Regions from separate parts of the Homo sapiens genome. Here regions 1, 2 and 3 are each linked to region 4. Evidence: promoter capture Hi-C in 16 types of primary human blood cells and fetal thymus (Javierre and others, 2016). All regions are on one chromosome and are shown on one strand. Each heading gives the region's core, a stretch centred on a gene start or on the middle of the fragment in contact. The rest is flanking DNA. Distances are from core to core; before and after follow the strand shown. Region 1 holds the start of LOC124901349 (a long non-coding RNA gene). Region 2 overlaps SH3BGRL2 (SH3 domain binding glutamate rich protein like 2). Region 3 has its middle 85 kb from the start of SH3BGRL2. Region 4 holds the start of LCA5 (lebercilin LCA5).

Region 1 (6,140 bases), core at 468-2,967, 240 kb after region 4:
TGTCCCAAAGTGCACTCATGGACTTTTCCCCGAAATCTGCTTCTCGCTTTTCCATTCTCTAACTCAGTGCCTGACACCACCATCCATTCAGTCACTCCAGCCAAATACCTCTCCTTCTCACTCCCTAATAGATTAGCAGTTGCTTGGTCCCCTCAGTTCCCCTTCTTAATGCCTCTCTTAATTGTTTACCTCTCTCTGCCTCTCCTCCCTATCTCAGGCCCTCAGCACTCCTCCCCTTGACCATTGTGGCAGTCTCCTAACTTGCATCCACTCTCATCTCCTTCTCCCTCTCCATCCATTCACTACAATCCATACACTAGAGTCTCATTTCTAAAGCAGTCTTTGCTCAAGTATCTCCTCTGTTTAAAATCCTTTTTCTCCTATTGCCTAAAAAGGCCAACTACTTAACGTGGCAAACAAAGCCTTTCAGATCTTACTTCTGCCCACTTTGCAGGCAGCCTGATATCTTGATTCCTCTTTCCTCATTGTAATCCCCAAACTCTAGTCATGTTGACCAAGCTGCCCTCCACCAAGACGCCACCCTCCTCATGCCCCCTCCAGCCCTCTGTGCTTCCCGCTCCCTTTGCCTGGAATGCCCTTCCCCACCCACCCAGACATCTGCTTAGTAAACACCTACCCATCTCTTTCTTCAAAAGGTTATCCGTGTTTTTAAAAATAAAAATAGCAATTTTATTGGAAAAAAGAAAGAAAACACAGAGAAGTTTCATGAAGAAATAAAGATGACCTAAAAAGCCTACCACCACTTAGAAACAAATGTAGATTGGAGTGGGGGAACATGTTTCCCTATCCTGGCTTCTCAGCAAAGCTGTGGTTGATGGGTAGTGAACTCGCCAGAGAGGCAGTAAGTGGCCCGGTGGTTGCAAGAGGTTGAGGGCAGGAGGGAATGGGGAGTTAGTGTTTCATGGGTTCAGGATTGCAGTTTGGGAAGACAAAAAAGTTCTGGAGACGGACAGTGGCGATGGTTGCACAAAAATGTAAATGTACTTAACGCCACTGAACTTTACACTGTTAAAAATCATTAAAATGGTGAATTCTCTGTTACGGGTATTTTACCATAATTTTTAAAAAGAGGAAAAAGGAAACAAGACTGATCTCAAGGGGTAGCAGTTTCAGTAACATTTTTTTCTTTTTTCTTTTTCTTAGAAAGGGAACTGGCTGACGTTCATGGTGGGGGAGATGGAAGGAACTGGTAGAAACGAGAAACAAAAAACCCAAGAGAGATTTCATTTTTCACTAGGATGCCAGGTATAAAATAGCACATCTCTTTTAATATTCAGAATAGCCGGAGTCTCCATTTCGTTATTACAATAATGTCTTTATCCCTTCCCAGGTTCTCCCCTTCCATTCTCTACCTCTTTGCGATCAAACTGAGCACCCGGGGGTTTCCCAAACCCAGGGTTACCGGATCCTGAGCATGCGCGGAGGAGGGACAGGGAGCCGCCCACGCCGGGCTCCGCGGCTGCAGTTGCTGTTGTGGCCACAAGGTGGCACTAAGTCTTTGGCGGCCGCTGGCCTTCCCGACCGTGGAAAGTCGGGGCCGGTGGGGCTAGGTAGGAAGAGCACACTCCTGTGAGGTTGCCGGGGGCGGGGCTCCACCTGGACCCCTGCTCTAGAGCTGCTGGCGCCATAGGAAGAGAAGATGTTTGGAGTTCTGCCGTCCTGCCTCTTCTGGAGTCCCGCCGTGGCTTACTCCTTTCAGAGCTTTCTGCCCTGTCCTGACAGTGCCCTCTCTTCCTAGGCCTGAGCTCCAGGTACTCAGCGACCCGAACCTTCCAACCTTCGCACCCTCCCCAGCACACTTTCAGAATCTCCACGGCTGGGTCCAAAGGGGCCCTCGCTGGGCTGCACGTACTCTGGCCGCCTTAGCTCTAACTCCTGCCTCTCTAGGGCTTTTCCCTCTAACCCCAGAGTGTGGAAAATCCTCTATTTTTTCGCACAGAAGGCATGGTGCTTCCTTCAGGGGGCGAACCCCACTAGTTTACCAGAAAATGGACCTAGCACCCTCCCTTCTAAAAAAAATAGGAGGGTAGATGACCAGAAGCACAGATGGAAGGGCCAGACTTTGAAAGGAAGGCCCGATACCTCTATTGCTGAGGCAGAGCAAAGGGAGAAAAGGCAGAGCAAAAGTGGGTAGAAATAAAAATGCTTTTCGAGGGAAGGGAACTTAGCAGGCCTGCGGCCAGTTTTCCTCCCTATTTTCATTATGAGATAGATACAAATGTCATATGTGAAAATGAGAAGGAGAATATGAAGGGCAAAGCCCATGTGTGGTGGTAAAGAGAACTGCAGAAGGAGAGGCCAGGTGGCTGAGCCTTGTACGAGGGCCTATGTGTTGTTGGAAACCAATCGTTCACTCATTTATGTATTTGAGAGATATTTATTGAACATCTGCTGTGTGCTGACATTGTTTCAAGAGGTGAGAATACATCAGTGAACAAAATAGAAAAAACTCCTTGCCTTTGGGAAATATTCCAGTATTTCCTAAATACTAGAAGGAGAGGAGGACTGAAGATTGGGAGGACGCAAGATTAATTAGTAAGCAAAATGAAATGCTGGAGGGTGATATGCTGTGTGGAAATAGACACATCAGGATAGGGGATATCAGAAGTTGTGAGGGACTTGTGACTTAGAATTTAAATAAGGTGTTCAGGGAAGCTCTCATTGACCTCAAAGACTTGAAGGAAGCTGGCCACGTTGCTACGGAGGACAAGCAATCTGGTGGAGAGAACAGCCAGCATAAAGGCTATGTAGCAGGAGTGTGGCTGGCATATCCATGTTGCTCCCAGAGTATATGGGATGCTGCAGCAAAAATAGATAAAGCATGAGGTGGTTTGGGTGAGGCTGTGGAAGCATGGGTGTGGCAGAGGGGTAACCAGGGAAGAAAGTGAAGAAAGTGCTGATAATTGTGGTTCAAGGGAGTGATTCTGTGGTCCAGGAGGGCAGACAGAACTGGGAGGTCCTGACAAGGAAGAAAGGAGGCTGAGTAGGAGTTGTGAGAGTGGGGGATGCTGTGTATAAACATTGGGTGTCTCTGGTAGAATTTAAGATGTCATTGGTGGCATAGTTCAAAATGATGATAAAGGCAAGAGTGTGGCCTTGCGAGCAAGTGATTGAAAATGGGAAGTGGGCTAATGCATGGTGCATACCCCAGTCAACCATAGCCACAACTGTGCTCTTCTGCATGGGGGTTCAGCTCCTATTGAGTAATATAGGAAAGGGCTAAGCTGCAATTTCTCTCCTGCATTACCAACAAATGCCCAGTAGAATTCAGCATTCTTCCTCAAGCACTTAGGGATGCATGAACGCCTGCTAGCAAATATTACAGGGCAAACAAAATTGTACCCACACATGATAGGAACCTTACATTCTCTGCCAGCACACTGATATCTCTTATAAGAGGTGGGTGATTTGGTTCTCCTCTAAGATGGTGAAGCCTGTCTGTATTTCTTTAAATCTTGGTGAGAGGCAGCATGGCGGTGTTGAGATCGAAGCCCAAAGAGGTGTAGCAGAATTTGAACAACATGGTTTGTGAGGCAGTAGCCTCCATTTCTCTTCTATCAACTCTTGATTTGAAAGAAGTGTTGTTGGGAGTGGCAAGATGGAGGATGAAAATCTCAACCCAACAGCTGTATGTAGTGAGACTTTAGTCTAGCTTCCCTTATCTGGGAGTGGCTTCTTTACTTCCTTACTGTACGTTCCCGTATCTTTCTCCACTATAATGCTGGCTATATAATGTTTGCTGTCTTGTGGAAGAGAACAGATTATTCGAAGGTAATGATGAAGTGTAAAAGAATGGGATGAGTGAAAGAGAAATGAAGAACAGTGATGCAGTGATGATTCATTCACTCATTTCCTACTACAACAAATATACATATATATATTTGATACCTATTACATATGTATATATCAGGTGTCTACTAGCAACATGGAGTCATGTTCCGGGGATTGGAGATGCATCAGTGAACAAAACAAAATTCCTGCTATTTGAGACCGACCTTGAGGAAAGACAGAAAATACATAAGGGTGCTTTGTTGTAGGAGTTGAGTTGGAGGGATCTGGGAGATGATCAAGGAAAAAGATGTGAGCACAGGGGGCAGTAACATACAACATGCTTTACTGAATGGCTCTTGGATGGGGTTGCATGAAAGAGGATGTCTCTCCTAGTGAGACCATCCAGAGGTTTAGGGCAAGGGGGCCACTGTTTAGAAGGGGAGAAGAGCAAACAGAAAATCAAGAGAGAGGGGGATTAGAAAGGGGGCTTAGAGGATCTAAGTGATGTCACTCAGCAGTACAGCAGAGAGTCTGGGTCAGAGAGCTCAGAAGGGCCACAGTGTTCAGGGCCTTATAAGTACAAGGCCCCATCTGATCAATGAGCAACAGCTGTTGGGTGAGGCCTCATAGGGTACGTAAAGTAGGCAGGCTCCAGATGGCTAAAAATCTGCTTGTTTGTGCTATTTTTTAAATAACTGGATGTGTAAAAATTTGCATTTGGCATCAGCAGGCTTTTGAGCTGACAATTTAACCTGCAGTGAGGAAATAAACAAGGTAGGGTTCAATACACAGAATCAGTCTTTGGTTCATGAACATAACCTAGGTGCTAAGGAGAGGGAGCAGGGTAGGAAGGCAAAGTAGGGCAGGAGAGGGGCTCTGCTTTTGATGCATTGTCTGAAAAGGCCTTCGTTGTAAGAGGACATCTGAGCAGAGACATGCATGAAGAAAGAGATTGAATGCCCTGCATGATACCTGGGAGAAAAAAGTTTCTGGTGCTTTTGTTTTGTTCTGAGGAGCCACTACAAGGCCAATGAGATAAGAGTGGAGTAAGCCAGGTAGACTGTGGTGGGGATGAGGCTATGTTCTGTAGGGCCATGCAGCTGCATACAATAAGGCCTCCATTTTGAGTGATCGGGGCACTGTTGGAAAGAGGAGAGACAGATTACACTTTGGTTTTAAAGGTGCTCCAGAATGCCACAAGAACAGATGTTACCCATGGAAGGAACAGTGGTGGCATGGACAGAGTGGAAAGTGGCGAAGGTGATGAGGAGTCAAACTCTGAAAGCTTTTCAGGAATAGAGCTCACAGAATATGTGAGGAATTGAATGTGAGGTGGGAGAAGAAGGGTGAAGGAGGCAAGGATAACCAGGATGTTTGGCCCACGAGGCCTTTACTGGCTACATTTAAGTGATCATGATATAATGTGGTGGCTATTTGTCCCCACCCAAATCTAATATTGAATTGTAATCCCCAGTGTTGGTGATAGGGCCCGGTGGGAAGTGCTTGGATCATGGGGGAGGATCCCTCATGAATGGCTTGGGCCATCCCCTTGGTGGTAAGTGAACTCCCACTCTGAGTTCATAGGAGATCTGGTGGTTTACAAGTATGTGGCACCTCTTTCCACGTGCTCCCTGTCTTGCTCCTGCCGCTGCCATGTGAGACACCTTCTTCCCTTTCACCTCCCACCATGATTGTAAGCTTCCTGAGGCCTTCCCAGAAGCAGATGACAGCATCATGCCTCCTGTACAGCCTGTAGAACTGCGAGCCAATTAAAACTCCTAGAAATTACCCAGTCTCAGGTATTTCTTTAGATCAGTACAAGAATGGCCTAACACAGATAGGTAATATAGTGCCAGAAGTATGGATTTTATACATTTAGACCTCCAGGGAGGTGTCTGTGGAGGCAGAATCATGTGAACAAATGCACAGACTGTGGAGCAGGTGTGGGAGTTGGAGGCTGGCTCCTCCACTTCATAGCTGTGTGACCTTGGGCACCTTCCTTGACTTCCTATATCTGTAAAATGGAGGAGCAGTAATTTGTGGAGATATGAAGGTGAACAAATTTGTAATGAATGTATAAAGTGCTTAGTACAGTGCCTGGCACATGCTAAGTACCCAGTAGATGTACCTGTACTTATTACGATTGGTGTTCAAGGAGCCTCAGAGATAGGAATGGTTATTGTCAAGGGACAGATGGAGGGACAATTTCAAGTGAAGTGAATGAGCTCATTTTGGTTTTCAAGTACCCCTAAGAAAACATTCTTCTTTGGCAGGACTGGCTACATAAGTTGTGGGGCCCACTGCAAAAAAAAAAAAAAATGCAGAGAGCCTCCTGCTAAAAAAATCTT
Region 2 (5,398 bases), core at 1,023-3,522, 160 kb after region 4:
ATTTCCTAGAACTTTGATGTCTTAAAATAGTAGGTCTTTTGAGGCTACCCAGGATTTGTACCATCTCTGGCATACCTGTAGGAAGAAGGCAGGGACCCTCAATAACATAAATTATAGACCAGCATCTGCAGTGCATAGCCAATGTGAAATCGTGCTTTGTTTTTACATCAGTTAGTCCACAGATGGTTGTGGGTGGTTTCCATGCACATGTTTTAAGCAGAGGCAAAACCCACGCATGCCGTATTTAAAGGTTCTTAAAACTGCTTTTATAAAGATGGAACATTTGAATACTTGTTAGGAAAATTAGAGTATTTTTATAACGTATTTCATCCAGAGATATTAAAAGTCCAGATTTATCTTCAAAGAACTGGAAAAAACTAGGATGGAGTAGTCTAATGGATACATAAATCCAGCGGGCATCATTGTCTATGCAAAAACCTTTTAAAAAATACTGCTTGTTCCCATTTTCCCCAAATATGTAAATTCTTTAGAGACTGTGGGCTGACTTCTTTATTCTTCAAAGAAATGTATTTTCTCACCAGTTTCTCAGGAAATCTATGGTCTATGAAATATACATTCTCACATGGCTTTTGGCCACAGTATTAAAGTTGATCTTGGTGTCACTGAAGTTAACTTGATTTCAGGGGACCATCCTAAAGGTAGTGAGGGCCCTGGACACTGCCCCCATTCAGCCCACCGTTTTCAGGGACCTAAATCAGTTATACCTGGACAGGAGTATCTGGGACCAGAGCAGATGTCCATAGCACAAGGTCTGTGCCACTCTCCATGAACCATTTAGGGCTTTAAAAGCTAATAGTAACTCATACTTCATCGTCGTATGAGAGAAGTGAAAATGTCTTCAAGAACAATTTAGCATTTTCTCTCTTCTAATCTTCTATTTTTTACCTTGGTAGTGATTCATCATACAGTCTATAGTCTAAGGCTTTGACAGAGTGTTCACAGGTTTAATGTACTAAAAGATGAAAGCCCTGTTTTCTCTTTTCCTTTCCTACTCCCTGTGTAGTATACACACATAAAAAACATGGCAACAAAGCCTATCAGGAAACATAAAGACATCATTAGCACCTATAATTGCTCTTACTTGGTAGGAGAGGACATTCATGGGCCCAACAGGCCCAGGTGCAGTGTAGGCTCTGACTGGGCTGCCCTCCATAGTGGGAGGGGCAAAGGTAGGTTAGAGGTCTCTAGATGGTGGCCTGCAGGCCACATTGGCCCTGGATATGTTGTTTGTCCTGTGAAGAGGTTTTTTAAAGTATGTAAATATTAGATGGTATGGAATCCCTGGTGGGGGTGGTGGGGGGATCTCAGTTTCCCTTGTAGTTGGCTGGAGCCCACAGTGGCTGGCCCATTGTGATAGCCAACTAATTCTGAGAAAGGGAGGCCATTTCACCGATACTTTTTAGGTAGAAAACCATCAAAGTTAAAATTTAGTAGACCCCAAGAAGGGCCTGTCATAGAAGATTGTACTTTCAGATCCCTAGCTTTCAGGGGTAATATCCAAAGTAGGTAACAACCGGTCAACACTGGGTGCTGACTGGCCAGAGCTTGAGCAGGCCACAGAGGCCCCCTGTGCCAGATGTCAGCTCTTTATCCATTGGCTCAAGGGGGAGGGTGCGCAGGGGTGGCAGTTGGGGGACTGGGGCAGCGACTCTTTACTAACAGATATGGTCGTTCTAGAGTGGTTCTTCATCTTGGGTTGCTATTAATGGGCATCTCTGCAGGCCCTCTGAGCAAGGTAACCCCCCACCCAGCCATACACAAGTGGAACAGTACCTCTGAGAGGAATCTCAGTAGGTCATTGAAAACATGCGGCTTTCTTTCCACTTTTATATTTGGCAGGTCGGGTGGGTGTGATTTAAATCTGGGCTCTGATGCTGAAACCCAGGATTTTCTCTTATCAATCACATGGAGGTGATCTGTTATGATTTCCAACATCTCTGTTCCTGACATTTAAAAAACCCCTGCCAAGGGTGAATTTTCTTGTCGATGTAATGCAATAACTGACTTTTTTTTTTTTTTTTTTTTTTTTTTTTTTATAGGCAGAACCTTAGAGAAGAAGAGTGGAAGATGACGGAGATGCATTTTGAAGCACCCCTGGTACTCAGCACACACATGCTTACCTAATGCATCACTGTGACAAAAGCCACACGCATTATCAGTAACTTTGCTTGCCACGGAAAAGGTGTTTTTGAAAGATGTGGCTATAATGAGAATTGCATGATTGCTTTAAACCAAATCAGGTGGTGGATTTTTTTTTTCTTATTCTATTTGCCTGCAGTTGCCTCACTCACCTGGAAATACCGTCACCTGTTACAGGTGTACTTTCTTAATGACTGAAAGATAAGTGGGTAGCACCGTCAGAGAGAAAATGTTGGATCTGCCCTAGGTTATAGTAGATGCCGGAATTGCGTAAACCCACTTCTCTTTAAGCTGCCTGGATTGCACCTTTGAAATATGTCTGCCAAGTTGTTAGAATCTTTGAATCAGAAGGAAAAAAAGCAGCGCTGGTTGACAAAGGGTGTTGAAGATTTTTGCTGCAGAATCAGTTACAAACATCACAGTTCCCATGCTTTGTAATAACACCTGGTGAAAAAGTTAGATATTCTAGACTTGTTTTAGTAATGGAAACTCTTACCTCCACATATTATCCTACAGATGTTTCCAGAAATCCCTGTTGTAACATCAAGTGATCAGAACTAAGTTACTGGGATGACAATAATTGCTATTTGAAATATATGCTTCTTTATTTCTTGCAAGGGGCAAGTTTCACCCAAATGCCTGAGACTGCTTGAAAGATATATTTTAAGTGGTGCACTAATTAGTGAATATATAGGAAAATTATCTGACGAGTATCTGAAGGCATTTTCAGCTCTAGCAATTTATTTATAATATATAAGTTCATATATTTTTTAATCCAGCTCCCCTAACAGACAGCTGCTGCTTCTATTTTGTGAAGGGACTATATTTTTTGAGAAAGGAAAATCTCAGTTAGATATATTTTGTGAACCCTTGATTAGACATATTAAAATATACCAATGTTGTAGTAAAATTTAATTTTTCCTTTTGTTACTTTTCATTTGCCTCTAATTTTGCTTGCTCATATTTCTGGCCAATGTACAGCCTCATATTTTTCAGAGTAATACAGATACTTGTTCTCATTCCGTATATGAGCACAAGTAAGGTTTCAGAGCAACACACATGAGAAAGAGAGTAACCCGGAATTGTACTTGTCAAGCAAAATCTATACTCCTATTGGAGTGGATGCTGATGAACATCGAACATATCTACTTCATTAGAGCAGAGGCTATTTTTCTGCATTCTTGTCCCTATAACAGGGATGCTTAATTTTTTTTTTAACTTAGAGTTTTAAATTGCCAAACATGGGAACAGCCTTGAATAGGATAAATTTTCAGAGGGCTGCCTAAAATATTTTATTTCTAGCATCCTGATTCTGGACTTTTCATTATAATTCTGAGCAGGAAATTTATAAGAAATTGAAAGAGCAGAAGAATTACAGCCCTGTCACATGTGCCCAGCACTCCGCCCCATGCCTTGCTAAATGTAGACTAAAGAACTTGTTGAATGCTAAGGCTGAAATCCCAACCTGAGATTTGTAGTCCAGGATTACAACCAGAAGGAAAGTATGACAGATTTCTACTTAACTAGAATGGACACATGATCCACAATTTTCTCTTCAAGGGAAGCTGTTGTCAAATTATGGATATTACTGGTTAGTTGTCATTAAGTAAGATCCAGGTCAAATTCCATTTGACAAATCCCAGGGACTATCCAGGAATTTTTTTTTAACTGGATATTGTGTTTGAGTATGTGAGTCTTCTGATAAAACTCAGAATTTCTTTTTAAGCAGTTGTAAAAATTGTCATGTTGTAATTCATTACTCAGCTAACATTTAGTCTACTCTTGCTAGTGAGTGCCAAGAACCAACTTGGTAAGGTTGAGGCTTTGCAAGTTAACTGCTGGGGTTATAGGATCAATACCATACTTGCTAGACAAAGCTACCCAGATTTGTCTTATATTATAATTTTTGAGTTAACCGTAGTATACCTATTATGATTATAGTAAACAGACTAGTGGGTAGTAATGCTAAATTACCATCACAGTTATGTGCCATCTCCCCACCCCATTTTTTTTTTTTTTTTTTTGATCAGCAAAGAAATACAGGAGACCAGTCTCGAGTGGTGCTGTACTTGTTATGAGTGAGGCAGCAGCACAGTGTGTGGCATTTACATGGTACCCAGGCTCCACAGAGTACCAAGATGTTGCCCTCTGGGACCACACTTAGCTCAGAGAATATGGGGTCCTTACTTGTATTCTTTTATCAGCTGATTTTGAAACATATAATAATGATTTTCTTGTTCCCTTCTTTAACTAGCTGCCTTTAGATTTTGATAATCACAGTCTTAAAATACTAGGAAAGAAGTGGATGGGAATTGTAGGCATAGATTTCATATCAAGGGCATTTCAAGACAGAATTTTTATTTCCTGTAGTAGGCTTGCTGGAGCAAAGGAAATGTGCTGCTAAAAATCAACTTATGCCATTTTAAAATTAGATAAAATATGGAGTGCCATCCTGCTAGGTGAGTACAGACCAGAAGAAAATTTAGTTGGGAAAATACTTGTTTTTCCAAATTCCGGTGTTTTATTACAATCAAAGAAGAGGAAAGCAAGGTATTTTTTCACCTCAGATTCTAATATATTCTAGATTTGTTTCTGTTTTATAGATTTAATTCAATACCTCCACATAGATGTTTTTATATTACATGAATTTAATAATAAACTAAACTTTTTTTTGTCTCCCGTTATTGAAAAGTACCAAAGCTTCTTTCTGTTGTGTTTGATTTTACTATAGGGGTTTTGCTTTTTCTAGAGATACTTTTCATTTAACAGCTTTTGTTAAGTGTCAGGCTGCACTTTGCTCCATATAATTATTGTTTTCAGATTTCAACTTGTATGTGTTTGTCTCTTAAAGCATTGGTGAAATCACATATTTTATATTCAGCATAAAGGAGAATAAATTCCAGAAAACACATATTCTGAAAATGGAGTGTTTGTTCCCTGCCATTTTTCACACCTCTCTTAATTTTAGTTCTGTTTAGTTGAGAGGCTGTGATTTTACTCTTGCCTGTGAACCTCATGCATGAAAGCAGCACATTAAATTGTAAAAATACAAACAGATCGTGTGATCATTCAAGGAGCCAGACATGAGGTCCTGCACGAGGGTGTTGGGAGGACACCACAGATTCATCTCAGACAGTGATCAGGACTGAGGATGGAGTTAAATCACTCAGCCCCTGGGTGGGGTGGGGTGGTTCAAATGGATGACTGATCTCCTGAGTACACTGAAGCCACAGGCTGG
Region 3 (5,969 bases), core at 1,391-3,890, 180 kb after region 4:
ATGTTCTAGTGCTGACATGGGAAACAGAACTAAAGAACAATATATAAAAGTAATCAGGTATATCATTTACTCTCAGTTAGAATTTTGCTCAAAAAACTTGAGTTAGTATGGAGCAGAAGAAAATGGTGAGGTTCTGTGATTAAATATATATATATATAATATATGTATTTGCTGTATAATCTTGAAAAAATACTAAATGTGTGGCACATATGTGTACAGCCGAGTGCCCTTTGATAACAGGACTTGGGTGGTAGCGACACCTAGAGGCCTCATCTCTGAGTATAGTTACAGGGTGGGCTTTGTGTTGCATTTTAACCCTCACCGTGGTAAATAAAAAAACCTGTGAAGATAGCTGTGAAAATAAAATCTACCCTTTAAAAAAGTCTATTATAGTATATGAGATTTATTTATGTTAAATTGGAAATGAAGGTCTGGGGAAGGGGAAGCTGCAGTATTTCAGAAAGTTACTTAAGCGGGTCAGGAAACCTGGGTTCTGGAAGGAGGTGGGCATTCCTCTCCTTTTGTTAGGGGGAACAAGGAGGGGGAGACCTGACGGGGAGCAGGAGCCCATGGCCAGAGGCATTATGCTCCAATTCACATGATTGCAGTGTTCATTCTCAAGGAGTTCTAGAGAATTTTAAAATAAATCATAGACCACATAAGATTCCCTATAGCACCAATCACAGGATTTTGCATTGGTTAGCAATAGAAAATACGCACATAAACATGACTTTGCGTTTTGGTGGAGTGCTGTAGTGCGGAGCACACTGCTGTGCTAGCTGGGCCAGCAGAACGCTGGGGACAGAAGCCATGGGTGTGTGAAAGGTACCTTTCTTGTCAGGTCTGAGAGCCATCACCTGGGGTTCCCTTCACCTGGGCTTTCCATGCTGCTCAGGGAGATAGAACATAATGACAGAGAAGATGAGCCCAGAGGCACTTTTCTATTCATGCGTTCTGCAAAAGAACATTAATCGAGCACCTTATTGGTTTCCTATACCCAAACTTAGTAGCTTAATTAACACAACGAAAATATGTTTTGGAATTCAGGAGGTCAGAAGTCTAAAATGAATCTCACAGACTAAAATCAAAGTGTCTGTAGGGATGCTTTCCTTTCTGTTGACTCCAGGAGAAAATCCGTTTCCTTGCCTTTTCTAGCTTCTAGAGACCGCCTATAAGCCTTGGCTCAAGGCTGCATCACTCTGACTCTGACACTCCTACCTGCATCTTAAAGGGACCCCTGTGATTACACTGGGCCCACCCACGTAATAATCTAGAATAAACACCCCATCTCAAGATCCTTAATTCCATCTGCAAAGTCACTTTTGCATATGTAAGGCGATGCATTCACAAGTGCCAGAAATTGGGACGTGATCTCTCTGGGGGTGGGCTTGAGGGAAGGAGGGCAAAGGCATTATATCCCACTTACCACAAGCATTATATAAGCCTACACGTAACCAGGCACAGGAGATATAAAGTCTCTGCCTCTGATGGGATGGGATTGGGGTCATGCAAATAAATCAGATTTTCCGGCAGTGCAAAAGACTACAGATAACTCAGGAAGAGGCTAGCTCAGCTGAGGCAATCAGTTCACATACCTCAAGCAAGTGATATTTGACTTAAGTCTGACAAATCAGGAAGAGTTAGACAGATGGGTGGAAAGGGAGTTTTAAGCAGAGCAAAGAGCATATGCTAAAGTATAGAAATGTATAAAACAGCTCAGCAGTTTCCATGATTAACAAGATATTGGATTGTGTTGCTGAAAGTGGCAGAAGATGAAACTGTACCTAATGGCTCAACTGTGTTAAGAAAGATTGTTCTTCCTCTGATAATATCTGTTCTGGGCTCAAAAAAGAGGAGGTTGATCTTCTCTTACATAAACATTGCTTCCCAGTGTTCATGGTGTTGGAAATTATGTTCAAACCTGGTCAAACAGCCAAATGTATTTTAATCTACCTTTTTATTAGCCACTTCTAATGATAAAAGAAAAAGGAGCTACAAAGCTAGAATGAAGATAAGCAGTTGATGATCCAATGAAATTATTAAAAGACAGTTTCTAGAGAAAGATGTATAATATATTTTTCATAAGGCTCTTAATATAGTTCTGTTCTCTCACCACTGGCCTCATGAAAATTTTAGTGAGATTTTTATTAAGAAAAAAAGATCACCATGATAAAGACCCAAAGGTGAATTGTTAAGAAATGTGAAACAAATGTGATATTATTGAACCATTTCATACTAACAGCTTGTAAAACATCTATTTCTCTGTTATTAGGGAAATTTTATTTGATTTTTATCTTTTTAATATGGACAAATCTACAGCTGGTGCCTATTTTCCTGAATGACAAAAGATATAAGAAATGTGGCTAGGAAATTGTGAAGGTCAATTAATTCAGTCTCCTGACCTACTCAGACCCCTTGCCTGCAACGTTGGTGAGAGGCGTTTCATAAGTAAAGCACAAAGTTTAATAAATATCTGAAAGCTCATTTTGTGCCAGGCATTGTGCTGGACCTGCAGGAAACAAAGAGAGTAAGATAGAGTTTGCCCTCAAGGAACCACAGAGTGGCTGCAGGGTAAGGGTGGGGAACATATATGTGTAAGCAGCTCCATTATTGTCTATGTCAGATGATATAATTGAAAAGTGTCCAGGATGAAAGTGCTACTAAAACAGTGAAAGGACACTTACCTAATTCTATCTTGGAGAGTCTGCCGGAAAGGTCTTGTTAGAGGAGGTCATTCTTAAGATCAATCATGGATGAATGAATGAATGATCAACCAACTAATTAATCAGTAGAAGGAAGTTTCCTGGGGAAGAAGGCTGGGAGGAGACAGCATTGGTCAGAGGCAATAGCATATGCAAGGGATCGAGGTGGAATAAAGGTTACACATGATAGAGGTATCACAGATGTATTCTGGGCAATGGACTAGATTGTAATGAGCCTGGTATGCTATACTATAAGATTTGAAAATTAACCTATAAACCCCCACTACTCAAAGTGTGGTCCGAGGACCAGCAGCATCACATGAACCTTGCTAGACTCCACTCCAGGCTAGAAGCACATTTTAACAAGATCCCCAGGTGATTCAGGGTCACATTAATGTGTGAGAAGCACTCCTGTAGATATTGAAAAGCATTGATGGATTTAAAGTAAGAATGTGAAGCAATCACATTTGTGTTTTCAGGAAATCACAGAGTTTGGCAGTGAGAAGAGAAGATGAGGTATGGGAGAAGGTGATGTGGGGAAGAATAAAGGCTCAGAGACCATTTAGAAAGTTAATTTATGGATGATAAGAGTTTGAACTAGGGTCATGGCCATGGAGATGTCTTATTAACTCTTGGGGAAATGGAGAGTAAAGGACTCAAATGTTCTAGCTTGGTTGACAGATGCAATTACCCAAAACAGGGAGCTTAATGAAGCTCCTTTTGGACATCCTGAGATTGTTTGAAGCACAGGTGAAACAGTCAGGTGGATAATTTCACCACTGAACAGCACCGTGACTGTGACAATTCAGGAAGCTCTGAAGAACAGAAAAGGAAGTAAAATCTGAAGAAGTAGGAAAACCAGTAGAAAGCATTGTATGGAAAGCCAAGGGGAAGAAAGTCTCAGAGAAAGGTCAGGTCAAATGAACACTAGAGCATATTCTTTAGATTTGACATTCTGGGAGTTTGGGGAGAATTCCTTAATTATTAATGTACCAAAAATTCAGAAATAATTACTGAAATTGAGCAATAGTGAATAGAAATAGAATAGGGCCAGTGGTAGCCAGAGAAATTTACTAAAAGCAATGTAAGTTGGGACACGTATAATTCTAGTAGCAGGTGTTATTTTTAAGGACTCTCATGGAAGCAGTTTAGCCACTTAAACATGAGGATGCTTTGGCAGAAATCTTATAAAAGCCCACTGAAACATGGGGAGCCCAGCAATAAGGTAAAAACTGAGAAAATGGAGATCAGAGATGCTTAAGGCTCTATAAAGATTTTCACAGAAGGAAAACGGATGAAAGAAAGGAGTGAATCTTCTTTTTAAACTGGTCATTTAGAACGACATAAGTTTTGTGCTGTCTCATTAAGAACAGGTATGTGGAGTTAAGCCTTCTTACTGTCTTATACAACTAACAGCTTCTCAGTCAGCTGTTCATGCTACACAGTGTATTGGAAGCTCGCTGCATTTCACTCCCAGGTGTAATTCTTTAGTGTATTAGAAACTGGGGAGGCTTCATTAGGTTCTTAATTAAGTATTAATTTATCATATTCCGCGAGCTACATTGAGCTATTTTTTAAATCACAGTAATTTACTCTTTAGTATCTTCAAAGAAATGTATGCTTCCAGGGATCTTCTACCCAGGAAACAAAGCCACACATATTGAGCACCTGCTATGTTCTAAGCAAATGGCTTTCAAATTTTTTGACTATGAGCCACAGTGAGAAATATATCACATATCAAAACCACATACACACAGACACAACACACTCCAAATAATACAACTATATTAAATGATGTTTACTCTTTTATTGTGCAGTGCTCTTGACACTTCTCATTCAGTTTGGAGGCCCGCACTGCTGAAGGCTAGACCGTGGAACATGATTGCCATGGTTGCTCCACCCTGGCTGGCCCAGTCTCAGAGAGTAGATGGCACCCCTTTTCCCAGCACTCTCAGTTTTCTACAAGGGCAAGTGATTGAGTGGCTGGAGGGAGAGGAATGGGAGTCTGACAGATACAGACTGGAGTTCTTAGTGCCAAAAGGACAAAAAGCTGGATTCCACTTCATTACTACTTTTTGTCCTCGTAGCAATCATTTTACTTCTCTAGGCATGTAGACTGTCTACGAAGACAGCTGCCAATACACTTTTCCACCTCGTACCTACAGACCACTTCCCCCATCAAGAGGGAACGTCTCTTTTCCGTCCCTTAGAATCTGGCTGGCCTGGTGACTTACTTTGACCGGTCCAATGTGGTGGAAGTTCTAATTTTAGGCCTGAGCTTTATGAGACTTGGCAGCCTTTTCTTTCACTGTCTTGGGCTCCAGCTACCATGTAAAGGAGCTCAGGCTAGACTACTGCATAGTGACAGACCACGTGGAGAGACCCAGCCAGCCTCCCCACACGGGAAATCCCAGCTGACATCATGTGGAACTGACCTGCCCAGCCGAGCTGATATATCCTGCAGAATCATGAAAAATTATAATAAACTGTGGTTGTTTTAATCCACTAAATTTTTAGGGTGGTGTGTTTCACTGCACCAAGTAGTGTTTCTCTTCTTACTCCTCTTTCCCGGCAGCAGGCCTCAGAGCTCTGCCCCTCCATGTGTTGGAGGATGGCAGAATGGAGGAGGAGATAATTCAGCAAAGCTCCCCAGGTAATCCTGATACTACCCTCTTGCAGTTAAGGTTAGTTTGGGCTGCAAGTAATAGACAAAGCCCAGTTACAGGGCTTACACAACATGGAAGTTTATTTCTCTGTCGTGCCAAAGCCTTGAAGTACTTTGTAAAGGAACTAGTCAGAAACAGCATAGAGTGCCAGGATTTCTTCCACTTTGGTCAAGAACATGCCTTTCCAACATAGTAATTACATAACTTTATCTGCTCCCAAATTGGAATTTGCTGTTTCAGATTACTAAAGTGATGCTTACTGTTTTACAATTGCCCAAGCTAATTCTGAATATAGGTATTTGAGTTTAGCTTAGAGCACCTTCAGGGAAGCTCTTCAAGTTTAGTTATGTCATTCTAGTCTCAGTTTCACTGATTAAGCTTGAAGAGATTAACTTATGATAAGTAATGTTTTTTGGAGAAACCAAGAAGTCTGTGGTGGGTTAATAACTAGCAGAGATGAACTTAATCATGATTGTTAAGCTTCAGGGTTCCTCATGTGCAATCTTCTTTCAAGTCTAGGGAGGAAGCCCTAGCAATATACTTACATGATCATATGTTTGTGTAAAATTAACCATAAGACCAACTAAGACTGTTGTCTCTT
Region 4 (5,925 bases), core at 6-2,505:
AAAATGGTAATATAGAATTTAAATGTGGAACAACTGGAAAAAAACATAGATTAAAATAACCATGCAAAAGAAAGAGGGAATGAGTAAAGAACTGGAAACATCGGTTTTACCATTCTAAAACACATATAGCCACTCCCTCTGCCAAAAACTAAATGATGACTTCTGATTGCAAAGATATCTCTAATGCAAGTTCTTAACGTGAAGATAAAGGAGGGGAATAAATATGTATGTGCCCAAGTATACTTTCCAAAGAACAAAGTGAACAAAAAAGGGGTTTATATCAGATGAACTGGACCAGGGCTCTTCACTGTTAAACACTATCCCACGGTCTATCTAACGTAAACATCACGTATCTGAGTACCGACTCCAACTCGAGTATGCCAAAAAGGCACTTTCTTTTTTCTTTTATTTCTAACCATCTTTACTCCTCTCATCCCATCCCTGAAGGATGTATAGAAGTATCACAGCCTGGACAAGTACGGCTTTCCACTCTAACCACAGTTTTAATAATAACACATCTATTATTATCCGAGAGCTACCAAAGCCTCCTTTTCCGTCTTGGCCCTTGGCCCTGCCCCTCCTCTCTAGTCTTGAGTCTCCACGGGCCTCCGGGGTTTTTGTTTTGTTTGTTTTAATAACAACCACTTCTCTAGATCCGCTTGCTCCCTTTCTTCTCTTCTCGGTCCCAGGAAGTAAATACCCTTTCCCAGCTCCTCTCCTCCTAACTTCCCAGTCCCCCCAGTGCCGGTCAACCTCCCTTCCTCGGGACCCTCTCAGAAGCCGAGCTCTTTACTCATTTTCCTAGGTCTTCCTTCTCCTCGCGGTCCCTACATCCTCCCCCATCCCTAATCCCTTCATCTTCCCTGCTTTAAGAACCACCCGCAGGCCCCCATCCACGAACGCCCCTTCACTAGCTACCAGACGCTTCAACCCAGCCTCACCTCGCACCTCCACCTCCCCCGCCGTCTCCACGCCCACTTCAAAGCCCACCTCCAACCCGCAGGCTCTTCAGCAGAGCCGATGCGGCGTCCCGCCTCCTTGCCTTCCCTCTTAGGACCAAACTCCCAGCTGGGGCCTCGGCGTCTGACCGCCAAAGAGCGGGTGCCTGGTTCCTGCGGAGGCTGCCGGGCGGGTGCCGAGGTTGCCGAGATGCGGGAGGTTTGAACACAAGGATGGGACAGAGGCGAGGATCGGGGCTCCTGGGTGGCAGCGGCGGTAACCTGGGCTCCAGGGTAACGGAGGCGGAGGCCTAGACTGCACTACGAAGAGACCGCAGCCAATCATGATGACTCTACCCGAGCTCCCATTGGCTTCTGTCTCCAGACGGCCCTTTTTATTGGCTTCAGTGGAACTGGAAGGCGGGACGGCGAGTGCGGGAGAAGGTCTCCATTGGCCGACCGCTCTAGCTGTAGCGGAGACCCCCAAGTAGGGAAATTGGGGCAAAACGCGGAGCGCTCCAGGCTCCTACGGGCTGTGCGGTGCCAGGGCTCGACTGCTGAGCGTCGTGGGCTCCGAGAGGGACGCGGGCGGAGGGCAAAGTGGGTTCATGATATGAATTGTAAAATTGGCGACTGCGTAATGTAAAACACTTAACAATTGCTTAGATTTCCTTTGGGAAATAACTTGCTTTTAAATTGTAAACAAATTACAAACAAACTGCTAGTGCTTCTGGATCTTCTTACCGAAATGGCTGATTCAGGAGGATGCGGGGTGAGTGCACTATTGTTCCTGCCTCGAGATCCTGGCTGTGAATCACCAACGAGCCGTGAGTTTGGCTTGAAAGTGATTTTTAGGTTTTGGAACGGGTTTGGGGTGGAATGGCATCTGAAATATTTGCACACAAGTTTTTTTTTTTTTTTTTTTTTTTTTTTTTTTTTTTTAAGGAACGTTTTGAGGAGCATGTCAGCCTATTGAGCGCTGATGTGTGACATATTTTCTCTTTTAGAAATGGCATTAATTGCGGGAGACAGGGAAGGTAAAAAAAAATCCTCTTTCGTGAGGGCTTTAAACTGCTCCGAGCCATCTGATTATCAAGGTGGTTTAACACTACTCTGGTGTTCTCACTATTGTTAATTTCTCACTGGCCTTTTTACCACCATTCTGTAGAGAATCTAATATTTGAAGGCAAATGCGTTTAATGAATCTTCTAACCATGAAGATTGGTAATTCCTGCTTCTCGCTCAACCTCGTTTTTCCACCTTTGCACTGTTTCAAAGCTTTCATTTTATCCTGTCAATACATTTTACTTCAAGTTACAGACTAACCCACCCAAACAATATTGTGATTAAATGTAATTTTCTGTATGCGAAATACATCTGTACAAGATGGCAGTCATCTGTTAGTGAAAATAAGATGAGTAATCCCTAAATTGCACGGAATTACTTTTCATCAATTCTTTAATCTGTCTCTGCTGACACTGTTAAAATAGCTCACTCGTTATTATGGACTCTGTTAGAATTAACATGTAAATGTATGGGTGGATTACTTATAAAGGAAGTTGCTAGGAAGAATCAGAAAACATACCGTATTTACGTGGACAAATGTCTGTCACAGGAGCGTCAGATCAGGATTGCTGAAGGAGAGCTGAGAATGAAACCACCATTTATTCAGCACTCAGAATGCTCCAGGCAGTGTAATCTCATTCCATCTTCATTCATGACTCCAGACAGGTATTGTTATTCATTGTTTATACTTGAGAAAGCAGATTCAGAGAAGTTAAAGTATCTACCACAAGGTACGAAAGTAGTAAGTAGTAATGCCAGAGTACAAGCCTAGGTCTGCTTCCAAATTTCGTGGTTTCGGATTTAGTGCCTTCATTGTGTTTCACCTACAGGTTAAGAAGTTGTTGGTAAGCAAGAAAATATTTAAGACGCTGGGAGAATCCAAAAAATTGTCTAGTTGTGTGTAACATAGTCTCAGGATTCTTACAGTGTGCAATTTTATTCACCCCCTCATATTCAAAATAACAGTATCAGTTTGACCTTGAAAAAAGACCAAAAAATGTATAAATTTACAGAAGTAAAAACTAGTTTATTGAATTACCATTTTAAAAGGTTACCCCAAAATATGAGAAAGCAGTTTTAAAAGTTTTATGACATTACATGGTTTTATATATTATTTTTGATAGGGCTAGAATTTTCTAAGATACCATTTGACATTTTATTTCAGTACCACACAGGATTCTGCTTTTCAGAAATAAAGGAAACAAAGTTATCAAAACCACATTTATATTTCTGCCACTTGAAATTATAGTTAACAGAAATCAGACTCTTGTTTTTAAAGATTTTGTTTATGAAACAAATTCTGCAATGGTCATTAAGCACTTTGGAGTTTTATTTTTAATATCCTGGGCTTCTTCCATTGATACTGCAATATCTCCAGATTTGCTACATTGCTAACTGAATGTTCATTTTCTGTAGGACTTTGATTGGCTTCTTTATTGCCATATGGCAATGATGTAGATGTTATAATGTAACTAAAATATTCCTACAAATGCTTACTAGTAGGATTATTCTCATTTTCCTTTGGGGAAACTAGTGTCGAGTTTGAATGGTTGGTTAGAAGTTTCAAAAAAGTAATAGGTAGATAAATAGACTCTCTAACTGTAGACAGAGAAATTACAATGACCATAATTTGTAAAGTGGGGGGACATACTATATATAGTATCTTGGAAAGCACATAAGTATAATTATCCTTAGCTAAAGTTCAGTCATCTATTTCATACCATTCTACAAAAGAAGAAAAGCAGTGTCACAATTTTATATAATTTACAGAAATGTGATACATAACAAAAATTCAAAAATTTTTTCTCTAACTTCTTGATCTCATGTTGCTTGGAAATTTTAAATTTATTAATAGATTCTAGGTAAATAGTTGGTTTTAGCATATAACACTAAATTTGAAACAGTATCTAATATGCTGCATGTTTAAGAGAAATCGAATGGATTGGTTGAGTTGGGTGTAAAGAACAGTATAATTGGCCGGGTGCTGTGGCTCATGCCTGTAATCCCAGCACTTTGGGAGGCCAAGGTGGGTGGATCACGAGGTCAGGAGATCAAGACCATCCTGGCTAACACAGTAAAACCCTGTCTCTAATAAAAATACAAAAAAATGAGCTGGGCGTGGTGGCGGGTGCCTGTAGTCCCAGCTACTCGGGAGGCTGAGGCAGGAGAATGGCATGAACCCGGGAGGCGGAGGTTGCAGTGAGCCGAGATCGCGCCACTGCACTCCAGCCTGGGCAACAGAGCAAGATTCCGTCTCAAAAATAAATAAATAAATAAATAAAATAAATAAATAGTATAATTTCATACCTAGAAAGTGGGCTGCTCTGATGAAAACAAATGTAGTCTAATCTGATTGCTATGAATACTTGATTTTGCAGTACAAAAAGCTAGTAGCCTTTGATTATTGCTCTGTTTAAAGGATACAGTTTCTGATCACTTGATGAAATGTACGAGTTTTTTTTTGTTAATGGAGAAAGAAAACTTGAGATGTTTGTAAAAATGTGTATATACTTACAACATAATGCTGGTCATCGATAGAATGAACTACTGATTAACACGGATTAATTTTAAAGACAATATTGAGCAAAAGAAGTCAGACACAAAAGAATATATTCTGTATACTTCCATTAATAAGTGATTCAAAAACAGGCAAAATTCATCTAAACTGGAAAAAATTAGAACAGTTATTGACTGTGGGGATGGAGGTAGGATCAAGTGGAAGGGACTGAAAGTTATTTTTGGAGTGATGTGAATATGCTGTTTTGACTGACGTGGTAGTTAAAGAGAGTTTCCAGCCGGGCATGGTGGCTCATGCCTGTAATCCCAGCACTTTGGTAGGCCGAAGTGGGCAGATCACTTGAGGTGAGGAGTTTGAGACCAGTCTGGCCAACATGGTGAGACCCCCATTTCTACTAAAAATACAAAATTAGCCAGACGTGGTGGTGTGTGCCTGCAGTCCCAGCTTCACGTGAGGCTGAGGCAGGAGAATTGCTTGAACCTGGGAGGCAAAGGTTGCAGTGAGCTGAGATCACACCACTGCACTCCAGCCTGGGCGGCAGAGTGAGACTCAGTCTCAAAAAAAAAGAAGTTTCCTTTATCAAAATTCATTAAAATATATAAAATATGTGTGCTTTTCACTGTATGTAAATTTTACCTCAATTTCTGAATGGCTTAAAAAAAAAGAATGCATTGGTTTGTATAACAGAAAAATCTAGTAGACCTAGCTCCACGTATGGTTGGATCCAAGTGCTCAATGTTATTAAAATTTTTTCTTCTCTTTGTCTCTTGGATGTACTTTTCTACGTGTTGGTCTTATTTAAGGCAGGCTTTCCCTTCCAGGTATGGCCACCAGTGCTCCAGATTTACATTCTATTTACCTCACAACCCCAGTGGAAAAAGAATATCTCTTTCCTGATTGGTCCAGCAGAAATCTTGGTATTAACTCTGACTGCCCACACTTGAATATGAACTATTAGTAAGTACTGTGGCCAAGAGTTTGCTTCGGGAAAGAATATGATAAAGTCACCTTATCTTTCATGTTTGCTCAGAATAGTGAGGTGATTCTCCACAGGAAAACTGGAATGCTGTTACTAGAAGAAGAAATACTGGACAAAGCTAATAGATGTCCCCAAAAGTGATGATAATAATTTTATTCAAATAGGTTCATAGATCAGTCTGGTGGGCTTGTTTTCACATTTTATTTAAGAAAAACTCTTGTAATTACAAGTTCCCCAGTCTGTAAATACAGATGAGATTAACCAAATTTTGTTATTTTTTGACTGCCTCTGCTTTATAGCACCCCTCCCCTCCAAAGACTTCCCCACCAATAATTTCTGGGACTTCCTAGAGAGTGTCTCATACTTACAAACATACCTGCCTCTACTGGTCATCCCACTAGGCAAGATACCAGGACCACTGCTCT

Evidence for each region. Contacts are between HindIII fragments. The CHiCAGO score rates a contact against its expected background, and 5 or more counts as called.
Region 1: a contact is called between a fragment that was not itself captured here and the fragment with the promoter of LCA5 in region 4, in 3 of 17 cell types (activated CD4 T cells, monocytes and M1 macrophages). The highest score is 6.6, in activated CD4 T cells.
Region 2: a fragment that was not itself captured here is called in contact with the fragment with the promoter of LCA5 in region 4 in 1 of 17 cell types (erythroblasts); the score reaches 5.4 in erythroblasts.
Region 3: a fragment that was not itself captured here is called in contact with the fragment with the promoter of LCA5 in region 4 in 4 of 17 cell types (megakaryocytes, erythroblasts, naive CD8 T cells and 1 more); the score reaches 7.8 in megakaryocytes.

Annotation. Positions count from the first base shown.
Region 1 is chr6:79,776,684-79,782,823 of GRCh38, forward strand. It overlaps LOC124901349 (a long non-coding RNA gene), which reads left to right and starts at 1,165. Exons shown (of 2, transcript XR_007059655.1): 1 at 1,165-1,266; 2 at 1,352-5,580. The HindIII fragment of the contact is 6,716 bases long and covers 1-5,075 here.
Region 2 is chr6:79,697,438-79,702,835 of GRCh38, forward strand. It overlaps SH3BGRL2 (SH3 domain binding glutamate rich protein like 2), which reads left to right. Exons shown (of 4, transcript NM_031469.4): 4 at 2,061-5,398. The coding sequence ends at 2,072. Among named protein-coding and RNA genes, the nearest start is that of SH3BGRL2, 69 kb to the left of the region's middle. The HindIII fragment of the contact is 5,171 bases long and covers 1-4,858 here.
Region 3 is chr6:79,713,622-79,719,590 of GRCh38, forward strand. No RefSeq gene overlaps it. Among named protein-coding and RNA genes, the nearest start is that of SH3BGRL2, 85 kb to the left of the region's middle. The HindIII fragment of the contact is 6,207 bases long and covers 1-5,744 here.
Region 4 is chr6:79,536,175-79,542,099 of GRCh38, forward strand. LCA5 (lebercilin LCA5) reads right to left here and starts at 1,256. Exons shown (of 8, transcript NM_001122769.3): 1 at 991-1,256. It also overlaps a transcript of SH3BGRL2 not described here. RefSeq lists enhancers at 1,152-1,725, 1,720-1,769, 2,300-2,873. The HindIII fragment of the contact is 3,782 bases long and covers 1-2,214 here.